Linked DNA regions of Homo sapiens: all the other regions are linked to region 1. Evidence: promoter capture Hi-C in human tissues and cell types (Jung and others, 2019). All regions are on one chromosome and are shown on one strand. Each heading gives the region's core, a stretch centred on a gene start or on the middle of the fragment in contact. The rest is flanking DNA. Distances are from core to core; before and after follow the strand shown. Region 1 holds the start of SH3D19 (SH3 domain containing 19). Region 2 overlaps FHIP1A (FHF complex subunit HOOK interacting protein 1A). Region 3 has its middle 16 kb from the start of RPS3A. Region 4 has its middle 3.3 kb from the start of SNORD73A. Region 5 overlaps SH3D19 (SH3 domain containing 19). Region 6 overlaps FHIP1A (FHF complex subunit HOOK interacting protein 1A). Region 7 overlaps FHIP1A (FHF complex subunit HOOK interacting protein 1A).

Region 1 (4,321 bases), core at 541-3,040:
TCTGGATCACATCTAGTCTGAACTCCAAAACAGGTCTTCACTGTACAGTCTCTTGTGAGAATGAAGCTTTCTGCTGAAGGTAACAGGAATCTAAGGTGGCCTACCCTGTTTAAATCCATAGGTCAGGCATGGCGGTATATCTTTGTAAAGTTTTTTCATTGTACTCTTGCAAGAAATATTCACTTATATCCAGCAACTATTCATTATTTCACAAGGTTTGGGTTTACACTGAACAAAATTACCAATTATGTTCAAAACTGGTGTTCATATAGACAGCCAAATGCCTTATTTTGATGAAAAGTTGTAATAATGAGCATGGAGAATTATTTTTATGTTCCAAGATTCTACCAAAGGCATTAAATTGACTATTTCTTCAAGATGTTCTTCTCAAGTTTTCCTTTCATCCTACTTTCTACCCTCCATTTGTTCCGCACAGATACAATATCTTCTCTATTTTTCCAACTTTCTCTTAGTGGTTAAGGGAGTCACACAGAAAAGCTTCTCCACTTCATGGAATATTCGCTATATTCCACTTTATAATGAGGCTCTCAGTGAATCGTTCTCCTCCGACTCTCTCACTTCCCTATCTCCCTTTTGTTGCCAGTCCCCCTAGGTTTGTTCTTCCCTCTTGTTTTCAGATAACTCGGATTACCCAGTTGGAACCAAAGGCCAAAGAATGTCCTCTCTATTATGTTTGATTGAAAAGCCGCCCGGAAGAGGGAAGGGGTGTGGATCTACACTTATTCACTCTTTCACTAATGTGCCAAACTATTTGATCCGTGCCGCTTTTGTGTACCCAAAACACAGTATCATAAAAGTAATTACAGGCCCGAAAATGATTCTCAGCCCAAATGAATGGCCTTTTGGAATGCTATATTCTGGACTTCTCTTTGCGTGGGGGAGGGTCTCACAACTAACGAAAACAAGTCCTACAGAAAACTGGTGAGCTCGGCGGCTGGGGGAGGGAGGGAGGGGGGTCACAGGTCCGAAGTGCAAGGGACGCCGAAACAGGACTTGCCTCAGTTATGAGCACGTGCTCTGACCTGGCTGCGGCGGCGCAGGCAAACCCCTCGGAAGGTGTCGTTGTCCACCGAGACGGCCATTGACCTCTGACTCATCCAGAGATAAGTCATCAACCAGGCCACAAGTCCCAAGCCAGCAGCTCCTGGATTTAGTGTGCACGGAAAATTTGAGTTTCAGCTGTACGACCACTAGCAGTTAAAGACGGGTCTGAATTTCCTCGGGCTCGGCCGGAAAGTGAGGATGGCGATGGAAATGCCACCCTCCCCGAGTCTGGCCTCTGAGAGTTAAAGAAGCCGGTCCCATCCCGGCGCGTGAAGGAGCTGCCGCTGTGTGGGGCAGGACCCGAGCGGCCCCAGAGCGCGCAGCTCTGGGTCCCCGCCGCCCCGTCCCCCGCGCCTCTCACCTGCGGCCGAGTGGCCCGAGAGCGCACGGCCCCGGGCGCGGCGCTGGCCACCAAGTTCGCGGCGCTCGCGTAGCTCTTCCTCCTCGTCCTCCCGCCGCCGGCCCTCAGCCATGGGCGAGGCGCGGGGCGCAGCCGCGGGATGGCCAGCGAGCTGCGGCCCCGGCGCCCCAGAACGCCTGCACCCGGCGCCCCACGCCACCGCCCTCGGGCCGGGGGGAAGGCGGCTCCCGGAGAGGAGGCGTCGGCGGCGGCTGTGGAAATGGCCACCTCCGCGAACTCCACCTGCAGCCGGCCGGGCAGCGGCAGGGCGCGGGCCGAGCCGATTCCCCGCCTCCTTGCGGCGTCCCGGCGGCCTCTTAATCCCTGGCCTTTCCCACTCCCACTCCCGCTCTCTTCCCCCTTCCTCTTTGCCTTCCCCGCCCCGTAGAGCTCCACCGCGGATCGGGCGGGTTCGGGGCTGGCCTCGCCTCCTCAGGGAGGGGTTATCGGCCCCTAAGGCCGCCCCACAGCCACACACGCTGGAAACACCAGCTCGACCCAAACAAACGTGTGCAAAATAAATAAACGGGATAGGAAGAGGGGAAAGAGGAGGTGGCCTGGCCTCTTCCTGCCTTTTCACGATATTCCAGTGTCAACAGGAAACCCATTTGTTTGACACTTAAACAAAAAGAGGAGGAACCCGACCGGGGCCGAACTGGGAGAGATGGGACAGCTGGGAGCTGCTGAACTTTGGAACAAACTTGGCTTGGAGTTGGGTCGAGCCTCTGCAATGCACACTTTTTTCTTTCCCTCTCTTTTCGCCCTTAAAAACCTAGACTTGCGGGAGCACAGAGGATTTTTAGGGCAGTGAAACTACTATGCGTATGATTCTGTAATAGCGGATGCCTTTGTCCAAGCCCAAAGAATGTACAAAACCAAGAGTGAACCGCAATGTAAACTATAGACTTTGGGTGATTATGAGGTGTCAATGTGGGTTCATCAATTGTAGCAACTGTGGCACTCTGGTGGGGGATGTTGATAATGGGGGAGGCTATGCATGTGTGGGAGCAGGGGGTACATGGGAAATCTCTGTACCTTTAGCTCAATTTTGCTGTGAACCTAAAACTGTTCTTAAAAATAGTCTAGTAAGACTGGAAGCGGTGGCTCATGCCTGTAATCCCAGCCCTTTGGGAGGTCGAGGCGGGCAGATCACGAGGTCAGGATATCGAGACCATCCTGGCTAACACGGTGAAACCCCGTCTTTACTAAAAATACAAAAAAAAAAAAAAATAGCCAGGCGTGGTGGCGGGCGCCTGTAGTCCCAGCTACTCGGGAGGCTGAGGCAAGAGACTGGCCTGAACCCAGGAGGCAGAGCTTGCAGTGAACGGAGATCGCACCACTGCACTCCAGCCTGGGCAACAGAGCGAGAGTCCTTCTCGAAAAAAAAAAAAAGTCTAATAAAAATGTTTAATAATAAATCAAGCCTCACTGTATTCCAGTTCATTTAGGGCTAGGATATGGCTACAATTCCTAGAAGAACAGGAAGAAATGTGTTAAAGAGACCCATACGTGATTATTTGTAGAGAGGCAACTAGGGGAAGTGGAGAGACCACTGGCTCTGGAGTCAGAAACTGTAATTTGAAGCACTTAGCTGTGTGAGCTACCCCTAAGAAAGTTTTTCAAAGCTGGAAAGAACCGTGTAACCAAAGTTGTGTGTACCTGCACAATACACATCTTAGGTTCAGTAGGTGCACGTACTTACTTTCACACAGAGAGGAAAAGATTCTGGAATTTCACCAAAAGATACCCAAGTAGCAGGCAGAAATATTACCTGGACATGAAACCTTAGGAAATTCCTGAGTGCGATGAACAGGCCTTTATCTTTGGCGTCTTGCTCTATTTCTGAGAGATTACCAAGAGCTCCTAATGTTCAGCAAGTAGGAGAGAAAAAGAAAGGGAGAAAAGGGTCACTGAAAATAGAATTGCCTGCCACACCTGAGTGCTGTTTCTTTGCCTTTTCAATAGTGGCTGTTGCCGCCTGAGAAAATCTTTCCGCTTTTAAGCAGATAAGAACCACAATCGATTCTGTGGAATTGAGGTCAAATCCACAAGTTAAAACTTTATTACTGCATAAGCGATTAAATAAGTAGACACTTAGAGAACTGGAAATTAAGCCAACAACAATAAAACAAAGGTTCTGGACCTTTAGGGTTGTTTTAAATGTTTGGTAAGTGAAACCTTATTTGTCACTTCCCTTCAAGGATGAATAATTTAAAAATCCCTACCTTGACCAACAGTACCATTTCATTAAGCCATTGGAGTCAGTTTCTACTGTCATTGAGTCTTAATTTTTTTTTTTTTTTTTTTTTTTTGAGACTAGAGTCACTCTATTGCCGAGGCTGGAGTGCAGTGGCACGATATCGGCTCACTGCAACCTACGCCTGCCGGGTTCAAGGGATTCTCCTACCTCAGCCTCCCGAGTAGCTGGGATTACAGGCATGCACCACCACGCCCGGCTAATTTTTGTATTTTTAGTAGAGACGGGGTTTTACCATGTTGGCCAAGCTGGTCTCAAACTCCTGACCTCGTGATCCACCCACCTCAGCCTCCCAAAGCGCTGGATTACAGGCGTGAGCCACTGAGCCCAGCCATTGAATCTTAATTTGGAAAGGCGTGAAAGTTGTTCTGGGTTTCCCAGCCAATTAGAGCTTCGGGAATCCACATTTTTGTGGTGGGTGGGTGGTGCATGCCCAAGCCCACTCTACAATTAGCAAACATTTATGGTAACTGTTGTGTGCCAAGTACCACTCTAGGTGCTGTGGGGAGACTCAAAAGAAGGAAAGAAATATCCATGATCACATCCTATGGTAGGTGCTTTTCACATATGTCTTCTCATTGCAAAAGAACAAAACATGT
Region 2 (4,321 bases), core at 1,301-3,800, 240 kb after region 1:
TCATCAACTTCTTGATTATATGTAGGTGGGTCATCTGCCCTGTCAGATTCTGTCCCAGGCAGGCTTTCTCCAAATGTGAGGAATGTGCCAGTACATTGTGTCACATTGTTGAAAGACTATTGGTCCCAGAATCATATTATTCATTTCCATAACAATACAAATGACTTCAGTATTATTGCACATTTTGGGTTCTCTGAAGCACAGTACAGATACATAGTACTCTCAGTGCAGACAAGTCTTGAGTTGAAGGTAAGGATAACTTTGTCATAGGGGATACTGTTTAGTTGTTAAATATTTTCTTTTATAAAGTTGAGACACTCATGGTCTTACTGTTGGCTCAGCCATTTCTTTACCTTTGGACAGGTGTTTTTAACCTTTTTTTAGGCTTGATGTTTCCTTTTAAATAAATCTGGAAAATGCTCTCAGTCTCTGCCTACAGAGGCTCTTGAGGGCCTTTCTGTTATCTTTATGAATGAAAATGCTGGTTGAAGAAATCTATGTGAATGTAAAAGTGTTATTGTTCAATGGAGATTTACTGAGCACACACTCCAGGCATGTCGCTGTAGGCATCACACGTGGGACTTGAGAATGTATAAGCCTTGGTCTGGGCTTTAAAAAATGTATAAGCTAATTCAGATGACAATGCAAGATACATTATTACAAAATGAATAACCATGATTACAGGAATTAAGTCAAGAGAAGGGGCTATTATGGCTGGAAATGGCCTGGGAATGGAGAAAGTGAGATTTTGCTACGTTGGCTATGGAAAAGGAAGGTTTTGATGACAGACAGGAAAATAATATTTCAGAGAATGGATACTAGGAATAAATGCTCAATTTCAGCTTTTTTGGATGGTACATATAAAAGAGGGGAAGGCAAAAAAATCAGAGCCAGGCAGAGATGTGGGACCAAAAGTAAGATAAGGAATGAGATCTTCAGCTGGGGGAAATGAATGCTACTTATTTGTTGTTTTGGAGTTTCATACGTTAGCTCTTGGCTGTGAGTTGTTGGGCTGGGGTGGGTGAAGAGCAGTTGCAGAGGATTGGGAAAAGAGCTCCAGTTTGACATAAGCTCCTAGGCCTACTGTGACTGCAGCCCCTGGGTTCACCTGAGGCAACCCAAGAAAAACCTGTAAGGCTGGTAGGGAATGAGGCATAGACAAAGCTGGGAAGCATTTTATTTGCCCAGGTGTCTGTTACCTGCCCAGTGTAATGCTTTTTTAAATGTTAAATTAGCAAAAAGTGTTGGCCGGGCGCTGTGGCTCACGCCTGTAATCCCAGCACTTTGGAAGGATGAGGCGGGCACATGATGAGGTCAGGAGTTTGAGACCAACCTGGCCAACATAGAGAAACCCCATCTCTACTAAAAATACAAAAATTAGCCAGGCATGGTGGCGGGTGCCTGTAATCCCAGCTACTCAGGAGGCTGAGGCAGGAGAATCACTTGAACCCAGGAGGTGGAGGTTGCAGTGAGCCGAAATTGCGCCACTGCACTCCAGCCTGGGTGACAGAGCAAGACAATGTCTTTAAAAAAAAAAAGGAAAAAATGAAGGCAACAAAAGCCTGTGGTATCCCAAGTTCTGTATGTTAGGAGACTTAAGTATAAATTCAACATAATTAACTTGTATTTGACAGGTTCTGTTCTGCTATTTGTTAATAGCCTCTTTTCCAGAGCTTGAGTTAAAAAGCAAACATTGATGGAGGAGATCTGCTTGCCCACTTATACCTTAGAGCCTGTCAGAGGCAGCTAGTTATACAACCAGCCATCATCCAAGCAGTCTGTGATTCTGGAGAGTTGCCAGGGGAGAGACCTTAAATGGCCCAGTGGTGCACTTGAGGTTCCCAACTGCTTCTGGGTCCAGTGATCTCATGGCATCCCCAGAATCATTCTAGAGTAGACTTTCAGGAATGGTTGCATTCCAAATAGTGACACTGAAGAGTCTGGGCTGTAGAAAGTAGCCCCTGACTTCCTGTCACCTTCTGAGATGCCATTTTATGCTATAAGTTGCCAGAGCAATGAATCTCAAACCCAGATCTGTCTGGTTCATTCCTCTGGTTGAACCTTTCAGTGGCATCTGGCCACCTACAGCCCAGGATGACACACAGAATTTGTTACGTCCTGGCTTCTGTTACTCTCTGCCTCTCATTTAATCTCCAAAAATGCAAAGTTGCTTGGGGTTCCTAGCCACCCCCTCTCCTGGCAGCGTCCATCATGCTGTTTCATCCCTCTGTGCCTTAGGCACTCCTTCTTCTTTCTGCCTGAAATATTCCTCCCACTGGTTAAATGCCTGTCCTTCTACAGGCCTCATTTGAGGGATCATTTGCTCTAAGAAACCTTCCCTGCCCTCTTTCATGCTCCCACCCCATGTTCAAGCATTAACCTGAGTATTCTATCACTCTTACACCAACCACCTTTTAATTTAATTACTTATATTTTTAGAGAGAGAGTCTCTCTATGTTGCACTGGAGCGCAGTGGCTATTCACAGGTGTGATCATGGCACACTACAGCCTTGAACTCCTGGCTCAAGAGATCCTGCTCCCTCAGTCTCCCAAATAGCTGGGACTGCAGAGATGTGCCACTGCGTGTAGCCCAACCACTTTTTATTAAAATTACATATACAGTATCTTCTTCACACTCATTACGGGCTCCTCAAGATCAGAGGCCATTTGTAACTTACATCCCCATTGCCCGGAACAGAGTGTGACATATAGTAGATGTTCAATAAATGATTGAACTGAAAGGCAGTCAGTATGAAATACAAGTTTAAAAGAGCTAGGCAACTTAGGAAACAGCTTTCAACATACACTAATTTTAAAACATTGTATAATTTGTCACCGGCAAGATCTTTGGACTTGGCATTAAATGATCTGGAAGAGTGTGTGTATATACTTAATTTTTATAGTAGTCTATTAGAACAGTTTATTCTCTAGTAGACTGTTGTTTTTATCTCTTGCCTTTGTTTCTTTGTTTTTATCTGAATGGAAAAGAGGACAGAAATAGTAAGAAGCATTAGCCCACCAGGCAATAAACTATTCAACTAGACTGCCATGTGAATTAAATTCCCTACACTAGTTATTTTTGATGGCACAATTGTACTTTCTGAAGCTTCATGGACCTTGCTCTATTCATTTTCTATCTGCTCCTTTCAAGCATTGAATTCCAAAAGGTCTCTGCTCTTAGAGCCAGGAGAACAGAGGAGGTGGGTTAAAACAAATCAATTGGAAATGCACATTTCTGTCTTTGCTTCTAGTTAGTTAATAGCCCAGAATGACTTCTTTCTACCTTCAGCCTTTAAAAATAAGCTGTTTAAAAATTTTTTAGGCTAAGAAAATATCAGAGCTCAAATAAAGTAATAGTGATGGATGAGGAAAAGTCAGTGGGTTTAGTAACCTTTTTCATCTTGGAGGGGGTAGGGATGGGAAAAAACAGAACCATCTAGATTGGTTAATTAAGTCAAATGTCTTCCCACAAAAATGAAAAACAGATAATATACTTGAGTTATGGTATTTTGTGTGGAGCTCCAAGTAGCCCGAATCTAAAGTCTAGAGCATCCATGCATGGATTTGACATGTGTACTGTATTTGAGTCTCATTCCCTTGCTCTGCTCATCTCCACTCTTTTGCTCTGTGCCTTGTACTAGACTAAATGACAGAGAAAAATTAAGTAAAGCCTTTGAGAGATGAACAGTTGGGACGTATTAGAGAACTCTGATTCATTTTCTAAATATCTTAGTAAATTGATGTTTGTTAACATTTCAAAAAGTTCTCTCTCTCTTCCAAGACTTACAGGTAGCTCTAGCCTTGACAGTAGAAGGTAAAGTGAACCAAAGTTATACTTCTTAAGTTAGATGGCCGAGGCATTAACTTGCACTTCTATCAGACTCTAAAGTGGTTGAGCATGGCCGGGTGCAGTGGCTCTTGCCTGTAATCCCAGCACTTTGGGAAGCCGAGGTGGGCGGATCACCAAAGGTGAGGAGTTTGAGACCAGCCTGGCCAACATGGTGAAACACCATCTCTACTAAAATACAAAAGTTAGCCAGGTGTGGTGGCACATGCCTGTAATCCCAGCTACTTGGGAGGCTGAGGCAGGAGACTTGCTTGAACCCAGGAGGCAGAGGTTGCAGTGAGCTGAGATTGCACCATTGCACTCCAGCCTGGGTGACAGAGCGAGACTCCATCTCAAAAAATAAAAATTAAAATAGAAATACAATGCTTGAGCATGTTGAAATGTCAGCAGCTCTCTTACTGTGTGCTTGGTGGTAAGTTTGATTTTTGCTGTGGTTGAAATTAGTGTTCTTTGAAATATTATTATTTGGATCAT
Region 3 (4,321 bases), core at 1,214-3,713, 240 kb before region 1:
TATTCTTTTTTATGCTATTGTAAATAGAATTATTTCTTTCTTTTTTTTTTTTTTTTTTGAGACGGAGTCTCACTCTGTCGCCTAGGCTGGAGTGCAGTGATGTGATCTCGGCTCACTGCAAGCTTTGCCTCCCGGGTTTACGCCGTTCTCCTGCCTCAGCCTCCCGAGTAGCTGGGACTACAGGTGCCCGTCACCACGCCCGGCTAATTTTTTGTATTTTTAGTAGAGATGGGGTTTCACTGTGTTAGCCAGGATGGTCTCGATCTCCTGTCCTCGTGATCCACCCATCTCGGCCTCCTAAAGTGCTGGGATTACAAGCCTGAGCCACCGCGCCCAGCCATTATTTCTTAATTTTATTTTCTGATTGTTAATTGCTAGTATATAGAAATAGTTGATTTTTGTATATTGATTTTGTGTCCTGCAAGCTTGCTGTGGTGGTTTATGAACTCTAATAGTTTTTATTGTGTATTTTTGATTTTCCTATTTTTTTTTTTTTTTTTTTGGAGACAGGATCACTCAGCCTCTGTCACCCAGGCTGGAGTGCAGTGGTGCGATCTCGGCTCACTGCAACCTCCGCTTCCTCAGGTTCAAGCAATTCTCATGCTTCGGCCTCCTAAGTAGCTGGGATTACAGGCGCACACCACCACGCCCAGCTAATTTTTGTATTTTTAGTAGCGTTGTGGTTTCATCATGTTGGCCAGACTGGTCTCCAACTCCTGACCTTAAGTGATCCTCCCACCTTAGCCTCCCAAAGTGCTGGTATTACAGGCATGAGCCACTGAGCTCGATCTGACTTTCTGTATATAAAATGATGTCAACTGTGAATAAAGGTAGTTGTACTTCTTCATTTCCAATCTGGATCCTTTTTTTTTTTGCCTTATTTCCCTGGCTAGAGCCTCCTATATAATCTTGAGGAAGTAGTGAGAGTAGACATCATCGTCTTGTTGGAAGTATAATTGACAAATAAAAATTATATATATTGTCAAGGTGTACAACATGATCATTTAAGTATACATATATGTGAAACAATTGCCACAATCAAGTTAATAAACACATCCATCCATCACCTTACATAGCTCTATGTGTTGGGGGGTTGGGGGGCGGTGAGGACACTTAAGATTTACTCTCTTGGCTGGGCACGGTGGCTCACGCCTGTAATCCCAGCACTTTGGGAGGCTGAGGCGGGTGGATCATGAGGTCACGAGATTGAGACCAGCCTGACCAACATGGTGAAACCCCGTCTCTACTAAAAAAAACAGAAAAATTAGCTTGGCGTGGTGGCATGCGCCTGTAATCCCAGCTACTCAGGAGGCTGAGGCAGGAGAATTGCTTGAACCTGGGAAGCGGAGGTTGCAGTGAGCTGAGATCACGCCACTGCACTGCAGCCTGGTGACGGAGCGAGACTCTGTCTCAAAAAAAAAAAAAAAATTTACTCTCTTGTCCTTGTCCTTGCCATGATCAGGACTAAAAAATAGAAAATAAAAAAAGATATACGGCCGGGCATGGTGGCTCATGGTGGCTCATGCCTGTAATCCCAGCACTTTAGGAGGCCAAGGGGGGTGGGTCACAAGGTCAGGACTTTGAGACCAGCCTGGCCAACATAGTGAAACCCCATCTCTATTAAAAATACAAAAAATTAGCTGGGCATGGTGGCGGGCACCTGTAATCCCAGCTACTTGGGAGGCTGAGGCAGAAGAATCGCTTGAACCTGGGAAGCAGAGGTTGCAGTGAGCCAAGATTGTGCCACTGCACTCCAGCCTGGGTGACAGTGTGACACTCAGTCTAAAAAAAAAAAAAAAAAATTTCCTCTGGTAGCAAATTTCAAGTATATAATACAGTATTAACTATAGTTACCATGCTGTATATTAGCTCCCCGGGATTTATTTGTTTTTCTAATTGAAAGCTTGTACTCGGCTGGGCATGGTGGCTCACGCCTGTAATCCCAGCACTTTGGGAGGCTGTGGGGCAGGGCGGGTGGATCACCTAGGTTAGGAGTTCAAGACCAGCCTTGCCAACCTGGTGAAACTCCATCTCTACTAAAAATACAAAAATGTAGCTGGGCATGGTGGTGGGTGCCTATAATCTAGCTACTCAGGAGACTGAGGCAGGAGAATTGCTTGAACCTGGGAGGTGGTGGTTGCAGTGAGCTGAGATTGTACCATTGTACTCCAGCATGGGCAACAAGAGTGAAACTCTGTATCAAAAAAAAAAAAAAGAAAGAAAGAAAGTTTGTACTCTTTGACTAACTTCTCCCCATTTCCCTTTTTCTGATCTTAGGGAAAAGTCATCCCATTTTTTACCATGAAGTATACTGTTAGGTGTGGGTTTTTCATAGATGCTTTTTATTAGATTAGGGAAGTTCTCTTCTATTCCCAGTTTAGGGGTTTTTATATGAAAGAATGTTGAGTTTTGTCAATGCATTTGATATGATGTATTACACTTACTGATTTTCAGATATTAAACCAACTTCATATTCTTAGGATAGATCCAACTTAGTCATAGTTGCTGTCCTGTCTCAGCCTCCCGAGTAGCTGGGATTACAGGCACGCACCACCACGCCTGGTTAATTTTTGTATTTTTAGTAGAGACTGGGTTTTGCCACATTGGCCAGGCTGGCTGGTCTCGAACTCCTGACCTCAGGCGACGCTCACCTCGGCCTTCCAAAGTGCTGGGATTACAGGCATAAGCCACCACGACTGGCCTATATATTTATTTTAAAGAGAAGGGGTATTGCTATGTTGCCCACGCTAGCCTTGAACTGGGTTCAAATAATCTTCCTACCTCAGCCTCCCTAGTAGCTGGGACTATATAGTCATGCACCACTAGGCCTGGCAAAAAAATTTTTTTTTTTTTGGTATTGTCAGGGTCTTGGTCTGTAACTCTTACCTTTCAGTGCTCTTACTTTTTTTTTTTTTTTTTTTTTGAGACAGAGTCTAGCTCTGTTGCCCAGGCTGGAGTGCAGTGGCACAATCTCAGCTCACTGCAACCTCTGCCTCCCGGGTTCAAGCGATTCACCTGCCTCAGCCTCCCGAGTAGCTGGTATTACAGGTGCCCACCACCACGCCCAGCTAATTTCTGTATTTTTAGTAGAGATGGGGTTTCATTGTGTTGGCCAAGCTGGTCTCGAACTCCTGACCTCAGGTGATCCGCCCACCTCGGCCTCCCAAAGTGCTGAGATTACAGGTGTGAGCCACCACCTCCGGCCCACTATTATAGCCTCCTGAGTAGCTGGGATTACAGGCACGCACCATCTTGCCCGGCTAATTTTTGTATTTTTGTAGAAACAGGGTTTCACCAGTTGGCCAGGCTGGTCTTGAACTCCTGACCTCAGGTGATCTGCCCGTCTTGGCCTTGCAAAGTGCTAGGATTACAGGTGTGCGGCCCCGCGCCTGGCCATTTTTTATTTTCTGTATATAATGATGTTTTGAAATCTGAAAAAACTTTTCTGTCTAGGGTGATTGCCCATGCCAGGGCTAGCCAATTCTTTTTTTTTTTTGAGACAGCATTTCACTCTTGTTGCCCAGGCTAGAGTACAATGGCGCAATCTAGGCTCACTGCAACCTCCGCCTCCCGAGTTTTTAAAGGGGTTTTCCTGCCTCAGCCTCTTGAGTAGCTGGGATTACAGGCGCCCACCACCACGCCCGGCTAGTTTTTTGTATTTTTAGTAGAGATGGGGTTTCACCATCTTGGCCAGGCTGGTCTTGAACTCCTGATGTCAGGTGATCCACCTGCCTTAGCCTCCCATAGTGCTGGGATTACAGGCGTGAGCCACCACTGTGCCCGGCTTTTTTTTTTTTTTTTTTTAAGACAAAGTCTCACTGTGGCCCTGGCTGGAGTGCAATGGTGCCATCTTGGCTCCCACCTGTAACCACCACCTCCCAGATTCAACTGATTCTCGTGCTTCAGCCTCCCGAGTAGCTGGGATTACAGGTGCATGGGACCGGGACTGGCTAATTTTTGTATTTTCAGTAGAGTCAGGGTCTCACCATGTTGGCTAGGCTGGTCTCAAACTCCTGACTTCAAGTGATCTGCCTACCTCAGCCTCCCAAAGTGCTGGGATTATAGGCATGCCCTACTGTGTTCAATCCCAATTATTTATTTTATTTTACTTTTTTGAGACAAGCTCACCAAGTTACCCAGGCTGGAGTGCAGTCGTGTGATCATGGCTCACTGCAGCCTCAAACTCCCAGGCTCAAGCTATCCTCCCACCTCAGCCTCCCAAGTAGCAAGAACTACAGGTGCACATCACCAAGGCTAATTTTTTTTTTTTAAATCTTTGAGACGGAGTTTCACTCTGTCGCCCATGCTAGAGTGCAGTGGC
Region 4 (4,321 bases), core at 715-3,214, 220 kb before region 1:
TTAAAGCAGAGAAAAGAACCCCACAAATTTCTGTTACCTATATTCTGCCACCTATGCATGTGTTAATCATACTACCTTCTGTCATACCACTGGATGGATTGTGCTAAGACATAAGACAGCCTTTTTTTTTTTTGCCCAATCAGCCTCATGGCTTCAGCAATTCACACCTTTATCAATTCCTCGCTGTCCCTTGTATACTAGTATACAAATACTAGTATACCCTCCCAGAGCACCTTACTAAGTCCCTTTATAGCAAAGCTCAAAGGAATTTTTTATATATTGGTATCATTTAATTTTTTTTAATTTTTAAAACTTTTTTACATATAAAATATATTTTAAAGGTCAAGTGCGTAGCTCATGCCAGTAATCCCAGCACTTTGGGAGGCTGAGGTGGGTGGATTGCTTGAGGTCAGAAGTTCAAGACCAGCCTGGCCAACATGGTGAGACACCGTCTCACCTAAAAAAAATAAAATTAGCCAGGTGTGGTGGCGGGGTGCCTGTAATCCCAGCTTCTCGGGAGGCTGAGGCATGAAAATCACTTGAACCTGGGAGGTGGAGGTTGCAGTGAGCTGCACTCCAGTCTGGGCTACAAAATGAGACTGTTGAAAAAAAAATTACATTTGAGAGACATGATCTTACTCTGTCACCCAGGATGGAGTAGAATGGTGTGATCATAGCTCGCTGTAACCCTAAAGTCCTGGGCTCAAGCAGCCCTCCCTCTCAGGCCTCCTGAGTAGTTGGGACACAGGCCTGTGCCACACCACACCCAGCTTTTTTTATTTTAAAGACAGTCTCACTGTCACCCAGGCTGGAGTGTGTTAGTGCGATCTTGGGTCACTGCAACCTCCATCTCCCAGGTTCAAGCGATGCTTGTGTCTCAGCCTCCCCAGTAGCTAGGATTATAGGCACCCACCACCATGCTGGGCTAATTTTTGCATTTTTTAGTGGAGATGGGGGTTTCGCCATGTTGGCAAGGCTTGTCTTGAATTCCTGGCCTCAAGTGATCCTCCCGCCTTGGCCTCCCAAATTGCTGAGATTACAGGTGTGAGCCACTGCACCAGGCCTAATCTGCTAGTTTTTAAGTTCTTTGTAGGGTCTTGGCTGTTATGTCCAGACTGGTCTCAAATTCCTGGCCTCAAGGGATCTTCCTGCCTCAGCCTCCAAAGTGCTGGGAGTATAGGTGTGAGCCATGGTGCCCAGCCACATTTTTTAGTTTTTATTTTATTTTTCTTCAATTTGCTGCAGTTAGGCTTTCCTCCCAACACCACTCCAAGACATTTCATTGTCAAGATTAGCAGTGATTTTGTTGCTAAATTCAGTGGTCCATTCTTTTACTAGAGGTCTTTTACTTGACCTCTGTTAGTGACTTGCTTATCACTTTGTCCTGTTAGTGACTCTTGACAGTTGATTTCTTCCTGATTTTAACTGTCTTCCAGATCCTCGACTCAAGCTTTTCCTCCTACATCATTGGCTACTCCTTTACTAGTTCATTTTTTAGACTTTTAATCAGTTTTAGAAGGCCCTAGGGCTGGTCGGGTGCAGTGGCTCACGCCTGTAATCCCAGCACTTTGGGAGGCTGAGGCGGGCGGATCACGAGGTCAGGAGTTACAGACCAGGCTGGCCAACACAGTGAAACCCTGTCTCTACTAAAAAATACAAAAAGTTAGCCGGGTGTGGTGGTGTGCACCTGTAATCCCAGCTACTTGGGAGACTGAGGCAGGAGAATTGCGTGAACCTGGGAGGCAGAGGTTGTAGTGAGCTGAGATTGGGCCATTGCACTCCAGCTGAGGAGACAGTGTGAGACTCCGTCTCAAAAAAAAAAAAAAAGAAGGCCCTAGGGCTTGGTCGTTAGACATTTCTATACTCTCCCTAGGTTCTTGGTTTTAAATTAATGGAGATTTTTATATTTCTAGCCTATACCTTTCTTTGGGACATCCAGGTTTGTCTAAGTGCCTACTTGATATCCCCACTTGGATGTCAGACAGGCATTTAACATACAGTGTTCTAAAATGGTATTATCTCAATTGTACCCACCCTTTTGGTTGCTTAGGCCAAAATCCTCTGTGGTCATCCTTGACCATTCACAGTTGATTCAAACTATATATATCTGGAGTCTAATCAGTTATTACCATCTTCTGCTATTTGAAACAAGCCACCATTACTACTTGGATTGTTCCTGCCTACCTTGTCTATGTCCTATCTTGTGGAAGTCTTTTATTTTTTATAGGCAGGATCTCACTCTGTTGCCCAGAATGGAATGCAGTGAGACAATCAGCTCACTGCAGCTTTGCATTCCTGGGCTCAAGTGATCCTCCTGCCTTAGCCTCCTGAGTAGCTGGGGCTACAGGTGTGTGCCACCATGGCTGGCTAATTTTAAAATATTTCATGTGGAAATGGGGTCTTGCTATATTCCCAAGGCTCCAAGGCTGGTCTGGAACTCCTGGCCTCAAGTGATCCTCCCGATTACGGGTATGAGCCACTATACCAGGCCCTGAAAATCTGTTTTAGACGATTCATTCAAAGATCCCATGTGATCTTGCATCTGACTTGTCTCTTACTCCTATTCCCCTTGCTCTTCCCTGTGCTTGAAATATTCTCCTTTACATGGCCACAGTGTTTATTTCACCTCCTTGAAGTCTCTGCTGTTTGTTGTTTATTTTTAAGCAACCTGAATGAGGAATTGAAGTTTGTTCTAATAATGTCTCCTCCGTAGAATCTGGTGGTGCCCTCTGACACTTGTGATTTTTTTCCAGTTTTGTTTACTCGTGTCTATGAGAAAAATTCCATGAGGACAGTGTTTTTGGTGGTGGTAGGGCACTGATTAATTGTCAGATCATCATTGCCTAGTTCAATATTTGTTGAATAAAGGAATGAGTGATATTCCCTATTAATGTCCCTTAGCCAAGAAACAAATGCCTTACTTTCTACTAAAGGCTGGTTTAGACATAGATATGGGTCCCAAATGGCAGGGGCTCCCTCCCCAGGGTAGAAAAAGAGGTCATGGGATGAGGACTGATTATTACATAAATGGTGGTTTTCCTCTTGATGCACTGAGGCTGGATATCATTTAGTAAGGTAATAGTATAATCCATAATCAAGCTCTAATCTGCTACACCTTGGAATAGGGGTTGGCATAGTATTCTATTTTTAGAAGGGCTCATTTGAAAGAGGTTCCAAAAATAATGCTTTTTTTTTTTTTTTTTCGAGACAGAGTCTTGCTCTGTCGCCCAGACTGGAGTGCAGTGGCACAATCTCAGCTCACTGCAACCTCTGCTTCCCGGGTTCAAGTCATTCTGCCTTAGCCTCCCAAGTAGCTGGGATTACAGGTGCCGGCCTCCACACCCGGCTAATTTTTTGTATTTTTAGTAGAGACGGGGTTTCACCATGTTGGCCAGGGTGGTCTCGAACCCCTGACCTTAGGTGATCCACCCGCCTTGGCCTCCCAAAGTGCTGAGATCACAGGCATGAGCCACCGCGCCTGGCCACAAGTAACTATGTTTAATGCCCACCACCAGTCTTTAGATTGATGGCTCTCTAGTTATTTTGGTTGTCTGAAGCATGTCCTTTGGTAGGTTCCTTAGGAAGTTCTTATTCTTCCATGGTGAGTATAATTTGTCAGAGTACTTTATATCTCAAAGTCACTTTTGCTGCATCCTTAGCTCCTTGGCTCACTCTTTAAGCATCTTAAATATGCTACTCCCATTTTTTTAAAAATAACTTAAAGCATTGCTAGTGAAAAGTATGATAATTAAATTTCTTTTAAAAGTCTTCGATTTTGGGTAGAGGCCCCCCAGTTTTTTCTCTTTTTTTTTTTTGAGATGGAGTCTCACTCTGTCGCCCAGGCTGGAGTGCAGTGGCACGATCTCAGCTCACTGCAATCTCCGCCTCCCAGGTTCACGCCATTCTCCTGCCTCAGCCTCCTGAGTAGCTGGGACTACAGGCACCCACCACCATGCCTGGCTAATTTTTTTGTATTTTTAGTAGAAGCGGAGTTTCACCATGTTAGCCAGGATGGTCTCGATCTCCTGACCTTGTGATCCGCCTGCTTCGGCCTCCCAAAGGGCTGGGATTACAGGCGTGAGCCACCGTGCCCAGCCTTTCTGTTTTTTTTGTTTGTTTGTTTTTAAGAGACGGAGTCTTGCTCTGTCGCCCAGGCTGGAGTGCAGTGGCATGATCTCGGCTCACTGAAAGCTCTGCCTCCTGGGTTCATGCCATTCTCCTGCCTCAGCCTCCCAAGTAGCTGGGACTACAGGTGCCCACCACCACGCCCGGCTAATTTTTTGTATTTTTAGTAGAGGCGGGGTTTCACCGTGTTAGCCAG
Region 5 (4,321 bases), core at 618-3,117, 180 kb before region 1:
GATTTTCATTTTTTTCTGATTTACATCTGTGGAGAAAAAGGAATTACTATTCAATAAGTGTTATTAGGCTAGATGCCTATCCATTTGGAAAAAATGATGTCAGAGACCTACCACACACCAAACACAAACATGAAATCTCCAAATGGACCAGAGGCCTAAACATAAACCAGTCCTTGGAGGGAGGGGATAATTTGTGCCTCCCAGTCACACATTTTCCCTTCTCTGCCTTCAGTGTATGGATATCACTGGCAATGCTGCTCATCAACCCAGCCTAGCAGGTGAAGGGCAAGAGGAACAGGCTAGACAGGGTTGCCAACAAGTGGTCCATACAATTCAGACCATACCACTGGGGTAGGTATCTGGTAGGTAAATATAACATAATGCAAAGGTCTTTCTAATATGACTATAACTGCTAATGCAAATGGTTTTGTAATATTAAGAATAGCTAATATTTACTGCTCATTCACCATGTGCTAGTCACTGTGTTAAATACCTTATATGCATTAGCTCAATGAATTTGTTAAACATCTTTGAGATATAACCCACATACAATAAAATTTACCTACTGAAAGTGAACATGGCTGTAGCATATTCATAGAATTATCCAACCATCACCATAACCCAAGTGCAGAACACTTTTATCACTCCCCAAAGAAACCTCCTACTAATTAGGTGTCACACCCCAGTTACCCTCCCCTCAGCCCCAGGCAACCAGTAGTCTACTTTCTGTCTCTATGGATTTATCTATTCTGGACTTTTACACAAATAACATCATATAATCTGTCAACTCTGAAGACAACTCTGTGGGCAGTTATCTCACACATTAAAAAAATAAAGTTTAGAGAAGTTAAATAACCACCGAAGAAGGTGGAAGGGGAACCAAATTCCACTTCCCTGAAACCCAGGTCTGGGGTCTCAACCATGTACCAGGCAACAACCTTCCACTTTTCCCATGATCTGTCTGATTCAACCACAACTGGTCATGTTCATTCAATATTTTCTGTTTGCCAAGTTAGGGCAAAGTACAACATATTCGTAGAGATATTTACCTTAAAACTAGGCTTTCAAATAGGTAAGTTTTATTTAAAAAAAAAATGTAACAATAGCCATGAACCCAGAAGCATAAAGGAGGATTCATTTCATTATCACCAATAGCTGCCCATCAGAGGCCAACTCTCTGCAAGTCTATAGTAAAAGATGAGAAGGTGGTATTTAAGGTGGAAAGAACTTTGCACTGTTATAAAAGACTAACTTTTGGCTGGGCATGGTGACCCATACCTGTAATCTGAACACTTTGGGAGGCCCATGCAGGCAGATGGCTTAGCCCAGGAGTTTCAGACCAGCCCTGGCAACATAGTGAGACCCTGTCTCTACAAAAAATTTTAAAAATTGCCAGGCATGGTGGTGCACGCCTGTAGTCCCAGCTACTCAGGAGGCTGAGGTGGGAGGATTGCTTGAGCCGGGAAGGTCAAGGCTGTAGTGATCATACCACTGCACTTCAGCCTGGGCAACAGAGTGAGACCTTATCTCAAAAAAAAAAAAAAAAATTCTAATTTTTTTTAGCTTCTATTTTTCACAAAGGAAAGCTTTTTGGCAGTATAACTTCCACTGTTGCCATAAGTGTGTTCTGAAAGAGGAAGGACAGCTATGACAGATGGATAATGCCGTACCAAAACAGAGAAAATGAGTCAGTGGAGAACTTGCCCCGTGGGAGCTAAAGTAAGGATTTTCATATGCCAGCAGAAGCTACCTTAACACATATCTCCTCTGCTCTCCAAATACAATTTTTTAGTTTCTTAGCAAACTTCAAAAGATAAACTGCCTTCTAAGAAGAAAAAATGGGAAAAGATTATGAAAACTAGGATAAACGGCAAACCAAGTATTTTACTTGATCACTATTATTTTTCATATTTACTTTATTTTTTTATTTGTTTTTTTTTTCCAAGACATAATCTCGCTCTATGGCCCAGGCTGGAGTGCAGTGAAGAAAACAAAACACAGGGTAGTCACTCTGTATCGAAGTGATTAGTATGGCAGTGGCAAGTCTCTTAGTAGTAATTTATTCTAAAAGTAGAATAAATGCTACTGTAATTTTTACTCTGGTTAAAATAAATGTGCTAATAAAAACCTGAAGATGAGATATAATTAATAGTTCCATGAAATGTGCTGCTATGTGTGATATGAGGGCTGTAACAATATTAATTCCTTACGTTTGGTCTGCTTCTAAGATGTTCATCAAGTGGAGTGATAATCTTCATTTGAGACAGGTGAACTCTGCCAGTGTCTTCTCCCTTTTGGCACTCCAAGTAATTATTTTCCGTCTGCTTCAGCATCACAAGTACATCCCCACGCTGCAAGGTACAATACCACTCTCTGAAGCAATTATTATTTAATAAAACATTATTACTTTTTCACATTTTAATCTTTGGAGCCTAAAGCATTTAATAATGTGTAATGGTAGTAACAGAGGCCAGTAATTTTTTTTTTACATTAACCAGTAAGGAAAGAGCTCTACTTTACCTTACAAGAGAGTTCTCCGGGGTTTTGAGAGACAATATCTTCATTGGCAATTCCATGAGGCACAGACAGCTTAAACGTAAACCAATAAAAGGCTTATTCACAATCAAATAACCTCCTCTTAAGTTGCTGATCATTTAGGAATTTGGCATGTGTGTGCCTAAAGTGCACCTTCTCCAGCAGCTAAACTCACCTGGCTTCATCGCGCTCTAGATCAATGGAGCCTGCCATTTCTCATGGATGTTAAGAGGCTCTTGGGAGTTGGAGTTAGGCCCATAGAACCACAAGAGCTAAACATGGCCTAACATTCCCTTAATGACCATAACCAGGAAGTTCTGTTCTACAGGACAAGATCCGCCAAGTCCCCTGGGGGTTTGAAGGAGAAACACCCAGCACTTGACCTCACAGCCAGTTCTTTAATTCAGGGTTCTTACAATGGTGGCCTCTGAAGGCTGATCAGTGATTGGAGCCCTCCGTGTACTGCCTGCCTGTTTCCATAGACCTTGAAGCTCTTCTCCTAGAGTCTCTCTGATACCAAGTGTCTACTTAAATCCATTTCATGGCCTGATCCCAGCCACTTCCTGGTCCACTCAGCTCTGTCTGATCTTAGAATGGTTTTTACATCTGTACTGGACCTTGTCCAGGAGGCTCTGTTCCCTGCTTTGGAAAATTTTAGCTGATGAGTGCACATCAGACGGTCTGTACTATATAAAAGGCATACCCAGGAAATGCAATCACACAAGCTCACATCCAACATGGGAAGAAGGCTGCCTGGGCCTTGGATCACCCAGGAGCAAAGATCCACAGTGCAAGGATGTGGCCCTGTACAGCTGGCTTGGTGGTGCCATTTCCCAACATCTTTGTCAGATTCCTAGGGCTTCCAATGTACCCAGATTCCTGGCTAGCAATTTAATGGTACTGTAGGCATGCAATAAATGAAAGATTTGAAGAATTATTTTGTAATGAGACATACAGCTCTATATATACCATCATTTTGAATGTATTGAGTTTTAAAAAATGCTTTATTGACATTATACGACTATGCTAAGAACTGTCAGGCCTCTGAGCCCAAGCTAAGCCACTGTGACCTGCACGTATACATCTGGATGGCCTGAAGCAGCTGAAGAACCACAAAAGATGACATTCCACCATTGTGATTTGTTCTTGCCCCACCCCAACTAATCAATCGACCTTGTTATGTTCCTCCCCAGGACAATGAGTCTCCTGATCTCCCTACCCTGCACCTTGTGACCCCCGCCCCTGCCCGCAAGAGAACAACCCCCTTTAACTGCAATTTTCCACTACCTACCCAAATCCTTTAAAACTGCCCCACTCCTGTCTCCCTTTGCTGACTCCTTTTTTGGAATGAGCCCGCCTGCACCCAGGTGAAATAAACAGCCTTGTTGCTCTCACAAAGCCTGTTTGGTGGTCTCTTCACACAGACGTGCGTGACAAGAACCAAATGTGAAATCTGGTTCCCCTTGAGAAAGGGCTCTTAACAGAATGGCCAAATCAAGTAGAGGCTACGATTGGCGTAATGGTTAGGAGCAGGTGTCAGAGCCAGCTGACCTGTTCTCAAATCTTGCTCCACCATTAACTGGATTCGCAACCCTGGGCATGTTACTTTATGTCTCTGTTTCTTATTTTCCTCACTTGTTAAAGGAGGATAATAATATCTACCTCACAAGGTTGGTATGAGGAATAAATGAGTTATTTAATACATACATAAAGTGCTTCAAACAGCGCCTGGCTCATAATTAGTACTCAATATACATCAACTACTGTTATTTATTAATTAAGTAAT
Region 6 (4,321 bases), core at 551-3,050, 180 kb after region 1:
TCAGGACACCCATAATCATTACCTATTACAGTCTATCATCGACCCCTTCCATGCAAAGGTGAAGTGGCCATTTATTCCAGTGTCATTGCTAGACTTCTTAACATTTTTCAGAAGGGGACAGCAATCTGCCACTCAGATGACCACTGTGAAGCATATGAATATATTCTTGATCGGTAATTTTGAATAATTGAACGCTGAATGTTCACAAAAAGAGAAAAATCTTTAATTCTCTGCTGTTGAGTCTTTATCAAAAGCTTAGTTTTAATAAATAACATTCAAGTGGGCATGGTGTGAGCCTGTAGTCCCACCTACTCAGGAGGCTGAGAAGAAAGGATCACTTGATACCAGGAGTTCAAGACCAGCCTTGGCAACATAGTGAAAATTTTTTAAAAATTGAAGGAAGATTACACAAAAGATTTTCTGTCCATCTATAACTACTGGTTACTTTCCAACAGCCAGTTTACCCTTCTTTTTTTGTTGAATGATATTGTGGGAAATTGGATAAAGGAATTTTTTTCTTGAGATAGGGTCTTGCTCTGTCACCCAAGCTGGAGTACAGTGACATGATCAGGGCTCACTGGAACTTCGAACTCCTGAGCTCAAGTGATCCTCCCACCTCAGCCTCCTGAGTAGCTGAGTCTACAGCACATGCCACCATGCATGGCTAATTTTTTCATTTTTGTAGAGGTGGGTGTCTCACTGCGTTGCCCAGGCTGGCCTCTAACATTCCCCCTGTCTTGGCCTCTCCAAGTGCTAGTATTACAGGTGTGAGCCACTGTGCCTGGCCTAAATGGGGGAATGAAATTGACCTCGGTGGTGAGTAGGAAGAGAAGGGCCATTTTTGGAACAGGATAGTTAATAAAATATTTACAATGACTGCAAGGCTACACTGAGTTTTCTATGAACTTTGTTAAGGAAGTATTTTCACTAAATGAAAAGAAGTATATTGCAGTATATTGTCTTAGTCTATTTATGTTGCTATAAAGAAATACCTGAGGCCGAGTTATTTATAAAGAAATGAGGTTGGTTTGGCTCATGGTTCTGTAGGCTGTAAAATAAGCATGGCACCAGCATCTGCTTCTGGTGAGGGCCTTGGGAAACCTCTACTCATTGCGGAAGGTGAAGAGAAGCTGCTGTATGTGGAGGTCACATGGTAAGAGAGCAGAAGCAAGAGAGAGAGGGGAGGGAGTACCGGGCTTTTTTTAACAGTCAGTTCTTGTGGGAACTAAGAGTGAGAAGTTATTCACTCCTAAGAAAATGGCACCAAGCCCTTCATCAAGGATCCACCCTCATGATCCAAGCATCCCCCACCAGGCCGCATCTCCAATATTGGGAATCAAATTTCAACATGAGACTTGGAGGGGACACATATCTAAACTATATCACATGCCTTCAAAGAGTGCTGAATTAACATAAAAATATGAAACCAGTTATGTAATATGGGAAGAGATTTAGAATTGTAATTATTTTTTAAATTTATTTACAAACAACTTTGCTTCCTGGGACAGAGGACAGGTCTTCCCATTTCAACAAAAAATAAATCAAATATGACATGCCATTAGCACATAAGGCAAAAATGAGACTTCCATAATCTTGAACACAAGGTACTTGTTTCTAGTTGAGATTTCCTACCCAGAATGGCACTGCTTCATTAAGTGATTCATTCCACTACCTCTATTTATGCTGTGAAAGCCTTTCCCCTGCCCCCCCACTTTTTTTTTGAGATATGGTCTCACTCTGTCACCCAGGACATAGTGCAGTGGCATGACCACAGCTCACTGCAGCCTTGATCTCCCAGGCTCAAGTGATCCTCCCAGCTCAGCCTCCCAAGTATCAGGGACCACAGGCTTGCACCACCACACCTGGCTAATTTTTAAATTTTTTGTAGTGATGGGGTCTCGCTATATTGCCCAGGCTAGTCTCCAACCCCTGGGCTCAAACAGTCCTCCTGCCTTGGCCTCCCAAAGTGCTAGGATTACAATAAGGAATGAGTGAGGAAAAAATGAGAAAATAAGAAAAAATGTGAAAAGTTAGAACATGTTATCTATTATTTTTAACCTAGATTATTTATTTTTTCCCTCTTTCCATTTAATATGTGTATTTATTAGTATTTGATAGTTAAGGATTATCTAGTGGATTTTAATTTTCATATCATTATACATTGCCAAGTGCTGTGGCAGATGATCTTAGATGCATATTGTATGTTATAGGATATGCTTTCTTGGCTATTAAGTGAACAAGGGCATCTATAATGTTTTCGATATTTATTTTCAAAATTGTAATGACCCATAGAAAAATCCCTACTGCTCTCCTCATCCCCCACCTCCTTATGGTTTAAACACGTTGAGAACCACAGTTCTGTCCTCTGAGAGAGAGATGGAGATATTTACAGGGATAGAAGGGATCAGGAGCTGAAAAGAATGGTAAAGGCTATTGCTTACCAGTGAGATTGTGTTATATATTATTTAAACAGGGGAGGTAAATGTTTCTGATCCTGGAAGCTTGAGTAGTACTGAACTTAGAGTCTCTTTCTTGACGCATTTTGAATCTGAAGGATTCTGAAGAAGATAGAATATAGAATGAAAACTGAAGAGGCTATTTTGAGGTAAAGACTGGAGGAAGTGGTACAGGAAGACCAAGAAATCAGGCAAGGCCTTATCCAGCAGGTTTATAAAAGGTTTGGAAGAGGCACAGAGATGGAACTAGGTAGATAAAGCAGGAGTTACAAAACAGGATTGCAGAATTTTATGTGGCTCTGTGCTTTTGAGTAACTCAATTTTTATTTAATCTTAGAATATCTCAGAGAGATGCAATATTTACAAATGGAAAACAACCCCTTTTGGAACTTAAGATCTGGGAAAGAACAAAGCAGGCACAATAATTTGGGGAGAAAGATTCGTGGGTCCTGCCTTCATGTGCAGCCTAGTAATGTTAGGTGTACTGAGGTCTGTCCACTGGCCAGGGTTGTCTCCTTTGGTTGCTGGTTCTGGAATTGTTAGTCTCTTGCCTTGAGCTGGGATCTGGCCCATCTAGAAATTTCCCATCAGGAATACGTGGCTGTAGGTGGTCCAGGGCTGAAGCTATAGGTAAATGATGAGTGGTGAGAAAGAACAGGCTGCCTTCTTCTCGCCCTGTAGGTGAACAGTAGCACACCCTCTATCCCTAACCATTGTTTAAACCAAAAAATTCAGCAGTATACTTGCATAGAAAGGCTCTCAGAATCAAAGTTTGACACTTTTACTCTTGGAAGGCTTAGAATCATGGGCTTACCAAAAATAGGTGACTTGGACTTGGAACCCACTGAGTCCTGGAACCAGGTAATGCTGGTTTCTTGGGATTGACTTGACCCTGTCAGAGACAGAGCGGAGCAAACAGCCTGCTCAAAGATTGGAAAAGTCCATTTCCCTACCAGTCAGCATTTACATACTCTCTTTCTCCCCAGCCAGCCCTCCCTAAAAACTACCCACAATGTTGAAAGAGCACTCCTCTTAAAACTTCTGTCCCCTCCCAAAAAATCTAGGAAACCCTTAAAACAACAGTTTTTCCTCCTTTTGGGTTTGGATGAAATTCCTCTCTTTGAGCAGGTGTCAGACATTCTTAAGCAGTGCTACAGTGCTAGGATGGGGCTTCCCATGTACAAATGAATACTAAATAAATATTACTCGAGGAGAGTAAAGGAGCTGGGAAGCAAACTGACTTTTTCAGTCACTGGCATGACTGGAAGCATTTATTAAGTATTTTTTTTGTTTGTTTGTTTTTTTTGAGACAGTCTCACTCTGTCGCCCAGGCTGGAGTGCAGTGGCGTGATCTCGGCTCATCACAACCTCCGCCTCCTGGGTTCACGCCATTCTCCTGCCTCAGCCTCCCAAGTAGCTGGGACTACAGGCACCCGCCACCACACCTGGTTAATTTTTTTTTGTATTTTTAGTAGAGACGGAGTTTCATCACATTAGCCAGGATGGTCTCGATCTCCTGACCTCGTGATCCGCCCGCCTCAGCCTCCCAAAGTGCTGGGATTACAGGCGTGAGCCACCTTGCCTGGCCAAGTTCTTTACCTTCCTGGGGTAGTGAGCCAGGGATGGTACAGACTACATTAGCAGATATGACTTCTGCCCTTGGAGACCGAGGGCACCATTTGTGAGCTCATTTTTGTGTGAAATGTACCTCGGTTGTCATTCTCAGCTGACACATAAGTAAATAGTGGTCGGGGCAGGGAATAATGGTGACCAATAGAAGGCTAGCTTTCAGGTAGACTGCACCTCAGACGCCTCCTTTGTTCATTCCACATTCCTTTCCCGTTGAGCTGCTCAAAGTACGTTAA
Region 7 (4,321 bases), core at 535-3,034, 160 kb after region 1:
AAACTTCACCTGGGAACTTGTTGGAAATGTAAATTCTTGGACTGAATCAGAAGCCCAGAGGGTGGAGCTCAGAGTTTTTTTTTTTTTTTTTGAGACAAATCCTCACTCTGGTTGCCCAGACTAGAGTGCAGTGGCACATTCTTGGCTCACTGAAGCTTTGACCTCCCGGGCTCAAACAATCCTCCCACCTCAGCTTCCTGAGTAGCTGGTATGACAGGCACCTGCCACCATGCCTGGCTAATTTTTTTATTTTTTGTAGAGACGGGTTTCACCATGTTGCCCCACCTTCTTGAACTCCTGAGTTCAAGCAATCTGCCCGCCTTAGCCTCCCAAAGTGTGGGGATTACAGGCGTGGGCCACTGTGCCTGGCTGAGGTTTATATTTAACAAGCCCTCTAGGTCAGCAGTCTCCAACCTTTTGGCACCAAGGACTGGTTTTGTGGAAGACAATTTTTCCATGGATGACGGGGATGGCGTGGCTTGAGAATGAAACTGTTCCATCTGAGATCATCAGGCGTTAGTTAGATTCTCATAAGGAGTGTGCAACCTAGATCCCTCACATGTGCATTTCACGATAAGGTTTGCGCTTCTATGAGAATCTAATGCCACTGCTGATCTAACAGGAGGTGGAGCTCAGGAAGTAAAGCTCACCCACTGCTTACCTCCTGCTTGGTGGCTTGGTTCCTAACAGGCCAGAGACTGGTACCAGTCTGGGTCTCAGAGGTTGGGGACCCCCTGCTCTAGGTGATTCTGATATGTGCTATTGTGCAAGCCATTTATTTTTTCTTGTCCTTGGTCTCCTGAGCAGATACATTACGGGTTCTCAAACTGTGTGCACATGAATCATCTGGTAAGCTTATTTTAGACATTTCAAGAAGCAGAGAATTTTTCCTGACCACATACCAGGAGATTTTGATTCAATACGTCTTGGATAACTCAGTTTATGTGCATTTTAACGAGCTCTCCAAAGTAGTTCTCATATCTATGATCTGGATTAAATGGATGTCTCTCACTTTCTTCAAGCCCAAAATTGATGTGATTTTAAATGGCTCTTTGGGTTTAGTAACTGAAAACTTGGGGCCAGAAATTTATTTGTAAAATGCAGTTTGGATTATTTTTTGCTGAAGTCAGATTATGTTCTGATTTCTTTCCTTGAAAAATATTTTCTTGCCGGGCGTGGTGGCTCATGTCTGTAATCCCAGCACTTTGGGAGGTCGAGGCGGGCGGATCGCCTGAGGTCGGGAGTTCGAGACCAGCCTGACCAACATGATGAAACCCCATCTTTACTAAAAATACAAAAATTAGCCGGGTGTGGTGTCAGGCACCTGTAATCCCAAGCTACTCGGGAGGCTGAGGCAGGAGAATCACTTGAACCTGGGAGGTAGAGGTTGCAGTGAGCCGAGACTGCGCCACTGCACTCCAGCCTAGGCAACAAGAGCAAAACTCCATTTAAAAAAAAAAAAAAGAAAAATATTTTCTTGCTTACTATATAATATTTTTCTGAGGCTTCTCCTTCTTGTTAAGGAAAAGAGCCTTTGGCCCTTAACTTGGAGATTTCATTATGCAGTTCTTCTAGGTAATTCTTTCAAATAGTAAACCTTAAAACACTATTCTAGGGAATGTCACTTTTTATTGAGATGTATCTTTTTGTCCCTGCCCTGTATTTCTTATCTTTAAGCCTGTTCCCTATGGATGATGGTATATTTTCCTCATCTCAATGTCATTCATATTTTTGTTTTTTTCTTTAGTTTTATGGTACTTCTTTATTAGAAGAATCGTTTGTGAGTCTTCCTCTTCTTTTCAGTCTTTTTTTTCTCTGTTCATCCCTTGGATTTAGGAAATTTCCAAGCTTTTTCTTCTTTCCACATCTCACCCACATGTTCTTCCCTCAGGGCCTGCTTTTTCATGTTGGCTAGGAACTTGCTCAGACATCACCTTAGCGTCCACTTTATAAAGTAGCATCCAACTCCCACAACTCTCTCCTAAGCTTTAGACCTGGATGTCCCACAGTCAGGTCAGGTTATCGTGTCTGGCATTGAACTCATTGTTCTTCACACCTGAAATCCGTGCCTTCTTTCATATTCCCTGTATTGGTAAATGGCATCACCATCAACCATCAACCAAATGTAGCTAACATTTATCAGGTGTTTCCTGTGTGCCAGGCACTATTCTAAGATCTTCCATGTAATTCCTTACAAAATCCTTTGAGATACATTCTATTATTTTTCTCATCGTACAAATAAGGAAACCGAACCACATAGAGTTTAAGAAATTATCTCAAGGTCACAAAAGGATTAATTAATGGAGATGGAATTCAAGCCAGGCTGTCTGGTTCTAGAGCATGTAGTCCTAATTACTGTGCTTTGCTGCCTTTCTTTTTCAGTGGCTCAAGCCAGAAATCTAGGATTATCCTTTACTTCATTTTCTTCCCTCTGCATATCTGCTTGGGACTCTTGAGTTCACCTGCTAAATCTCTCTTAAAACTACACTTCTGCTTCTCTACATTCATTGTAAGGGTTCTGGTCCAGACCTTCATCATCTCTCTTCTCAACTACTATAATTGGTGTTTTCTTTCCATTCATTTATGTTATGACTGGTGTATTCTGATCATGACACTCCTCTGCATTCACCAGTGTAGCTCCTCCACAATCAGTCATCCATTGTGGGCAATGCTTTTCTTTTATCCATATGTGCAGGTTTGTTATATGGGTATATTGTGTGATGCTGAGGTTTGGGGTATAAATGGTCCTGTCACCTAGGTAGTGAGCATAGTACCCAATAGGTAATTTTTCAGCTCTTTCCCCCCTCACTCTCTCTCCACTCTAATGGTCTCCAGTGTCTATTGTTCCCACTTATAAGTGAGAACATGTGGCATTTGGTTTTCTGTTCCTGCATTAATTCTCTTAGGATAATGACCTCCAGCTGCATCCATATTGTTGCAAAGGATGTGATTTCATTCTTTTCTAATGGCTGCATAATATTCCATCATGTACATATACCACATTTTCTGTATCCAGTCCACTGTTGATGAGCACCTAGGGTGACTCTATGTCTTTACTATTGTGAATAGTGCTGTGATTAGCGTGTGAGTGCATGTGTCTTTTTGGCAGAACAACTTATTTTCCTTTGGGTATATACCCAGTAATGGGATTGCAAATGCTGCCATAGTATTCCATTCTTTTCCTTTCATCTGACTCATCAAACTGTTTTAGTTGTTTGTTCAGTTACCTCTTTTAGACCGTGAGCTGCATCTTATTTATTTCTGTGCGTCTATCACCCAACGTAAGTATTCAATATTGATCATATGAAAGGACAAATGAATATTTAAATGAGCCAACTGATTTCTACCAATTCTACATGCTTCCTACTTTTGTAAAATAACTCGAGCTGGTGGAGAGAGAGTGGGAAAATGGCAGATAGGAGACAGGATTAACAGGCAGCTCCCACTTAGACAGACAGAACAGCATATGGAGACTCACATTGTGAAGTTTTGCTCCAAGAACCACCACAGGAACATACCAGGAAAACTGAAAGAATTCACAGACCCTTTGAAAGAAGCAGCTTACCGCTGCAAACTCTACGTGAGTTCCCAAGGTGTGAGAGGAGGAGAAGTCTGCCTCTGCACCCACATCCCACTGGGAACCTGAAAATCCTGAAAATCCAGCTCACAGGAGAAGGATTTAACCTCACCTAGAGCTGAAACGGATTTAGGGAGCTGAGTGAAATATAAAAGTAGAAGAAGTAGTGGGAAGAGCACTGTAGGCACTCCAGGTCCCCAGCTAGAGTCCAGGGAAGCCATTCCTGGCCTTATATCACAGGGGTCTTTGGGGAAGGGAAGGCAGCCAGCAGAATTGGGGAGGGGCCACAGAGTGAAGGAAACTCCTAGCTGAACTTTGTAATAATTTTGACTGAGCACGAATTTTCCTGAGTAGAATGTAGGGTTGAGGAGTGAACAGGAAGCGCGGATAGGAGTGCAGAAGCTACAGCCAAAGGTGCAGGCAGGTGGGGAGGGGCAAGGCCTGAGAGCCCTGCTTGCTTTCTCAGCAGGGAGGCTTGTAGCCTGGGGCAAGATCTCAGCCCTGCTTGCCAGCTGCTGGATATAAACTCAGTGCTGTTATCGAGGCATGGTGGGAGTGAGACTGGCCTTGCTGGGAGCTGGGTGAGACCTGTCATTGCCGACTTTCCCCGCTTCCCTGATGACCTGTAGGGTGCAGCAGAGGCAGGCATAATCCACCTGGGAACATAGCTCTATTGGCCTGAGAACTACCCTCCATCCTCCTCAGTGGCCGCAGCAAATCCTACCCAAGGAGAGTCTGAGTTCA

What was found. The method cuts DNA at HindIII sites, captures the fragments that hold promoters and counts their contacts. A contact is called where the count stands out against the background at its distance.
Region 2: a contact is called between a fragment that was not itself captured here and the fragment with the promoter of SH3D19 in region 1, in 1 of the 25 tissues and cell types used here (mesenchymal stem cells).
Region 3: a contact is called between a fragment that was not itself captured here and the fragment with the promoter of SH3D19 in region 1, in 1 of the 25 tissues and cell types used here (pancreas).
Region 4: a fragment that was not itself captured here is called in contact with the fragment with the promoter of SH3D19 in region 1 in 1 of the 25 tissues and cell types used here (dorsolateral prefrontal cortex).
Region 5: a contact is called between a fragment that was not itself captured here and the fragment with the promoter of SH3D19 in region 1, in 3 of the 25 tissues and cell types used here (adrenal gland, mesenchymal stem cells and small bowel).
Region 6: a fragment that was not itself captured here is called in contact with the fragment with the promoter of SH3D19 in region 1 in 2 of the 25 tissues and cell types used here (mesenchymal stem cells and mesendoderm cells).
Region 7: a contact is called between a fragment that was not itself captured here and the fragment with the promoter of SH3D19 in region 1, in 6 of the 25 tissues and cell types used here (H1 embryonic stem cells, bladder, heart right ventricle and 3 more).

The regions. Positions count from the first base shown.
Region 1 is chr4:151,323,815-151,328,135 of GRCh38, forward strand. It overlaps SH3D19 (SH3 domain containing 19), which reads right to left and starts at 1,791. Exons shown (of 20, transcript NM_001378122.1): 1 at 1,427-1,791. The coding sequence starts at 1,538. The HindIII fragment of the contact is 31,894 bases long and covers 283-4,321 here.
Region 2 is chr4:151,568,026-151,572,346 of GRCh38, forward strand. The region is part of intron 4 of FHIP1A (FHF complex subunit HOOK interacting protein 1A); the gene reads left to right. Among named protein-coding and RNA genes, the nearest start is that of FHIP1A, 160 kb to the left of the region's middle. The HindIII fragment of the contact is 3,965 bases long and covers 569-4,321 here.
Region 3 is chr4:151,081,382-151,085,702 of GRCh38, forward strand. No RefSeq gene overlaps it. Among named protein-coding and RNA genes, the nearest start is that of RPS3A, 16 kb to the right of the region's middle. The HindIII fragment of the contact is 4,380 bases long and covers 274-4,321 here.
Region 4 is chr4:151,104,931-151,109,251 of GRCh38, forward strand. No RefSeq gene overlaps it. Among named protein-coding and RNA genes, the nearest start is that of SNORD73A, 3.3 kb to the left of the region's middle. The HindIII fragment of the contact is 7,291 bases long and covers 1-4,321 here.
Region 5 is chr4:151,141,700-151,146,020 of GRCh38, forward strand. SH3D19 (SH3 domain containing 19) reads right to left here. Exons shown (of 20, transcript NM_001378122.1): 12 at 2,211-2,351. Among named protein-coding and RNA genes, the nearest start is that of SH3D19-AS1, 20 kb to the left of the region's middle. The HindIII fragment of the contact is 4,262 bases long and covers 1-3,998 here.
Region 6 is chr4:151,505,421-151,509,741 of GRCh38, forward strand. The region is part of intron 3 of FHIP1A (FHF complex subunit HOOK interacting protein 1A); the gene reads left to right. Among named protein-coding and RNA genes, the nearest start is that of FHIP1A, 98 kb to the left of the region's middle. The HindIII fragment of the contact is 5,266 bases long and covers 1-4,321 here.
Region 7 is chr4:151,485,518-151,489,838 of GRCh38, forward strand. All of the region lies in intron 3 of FHIP1A (FHF complex subunit HOOK interacting protein 1A), which reads left to right. Among named protein-coding and RNA genes, the nearest start is that of FHIP1A, 79 kb to the left of the region's middle. RefSeq lists enhancers at 1-504, 505-1,203, 3,306-3,939. The HindIII fragment of the contact is 4,294 bases long and covers 1-3,931 here.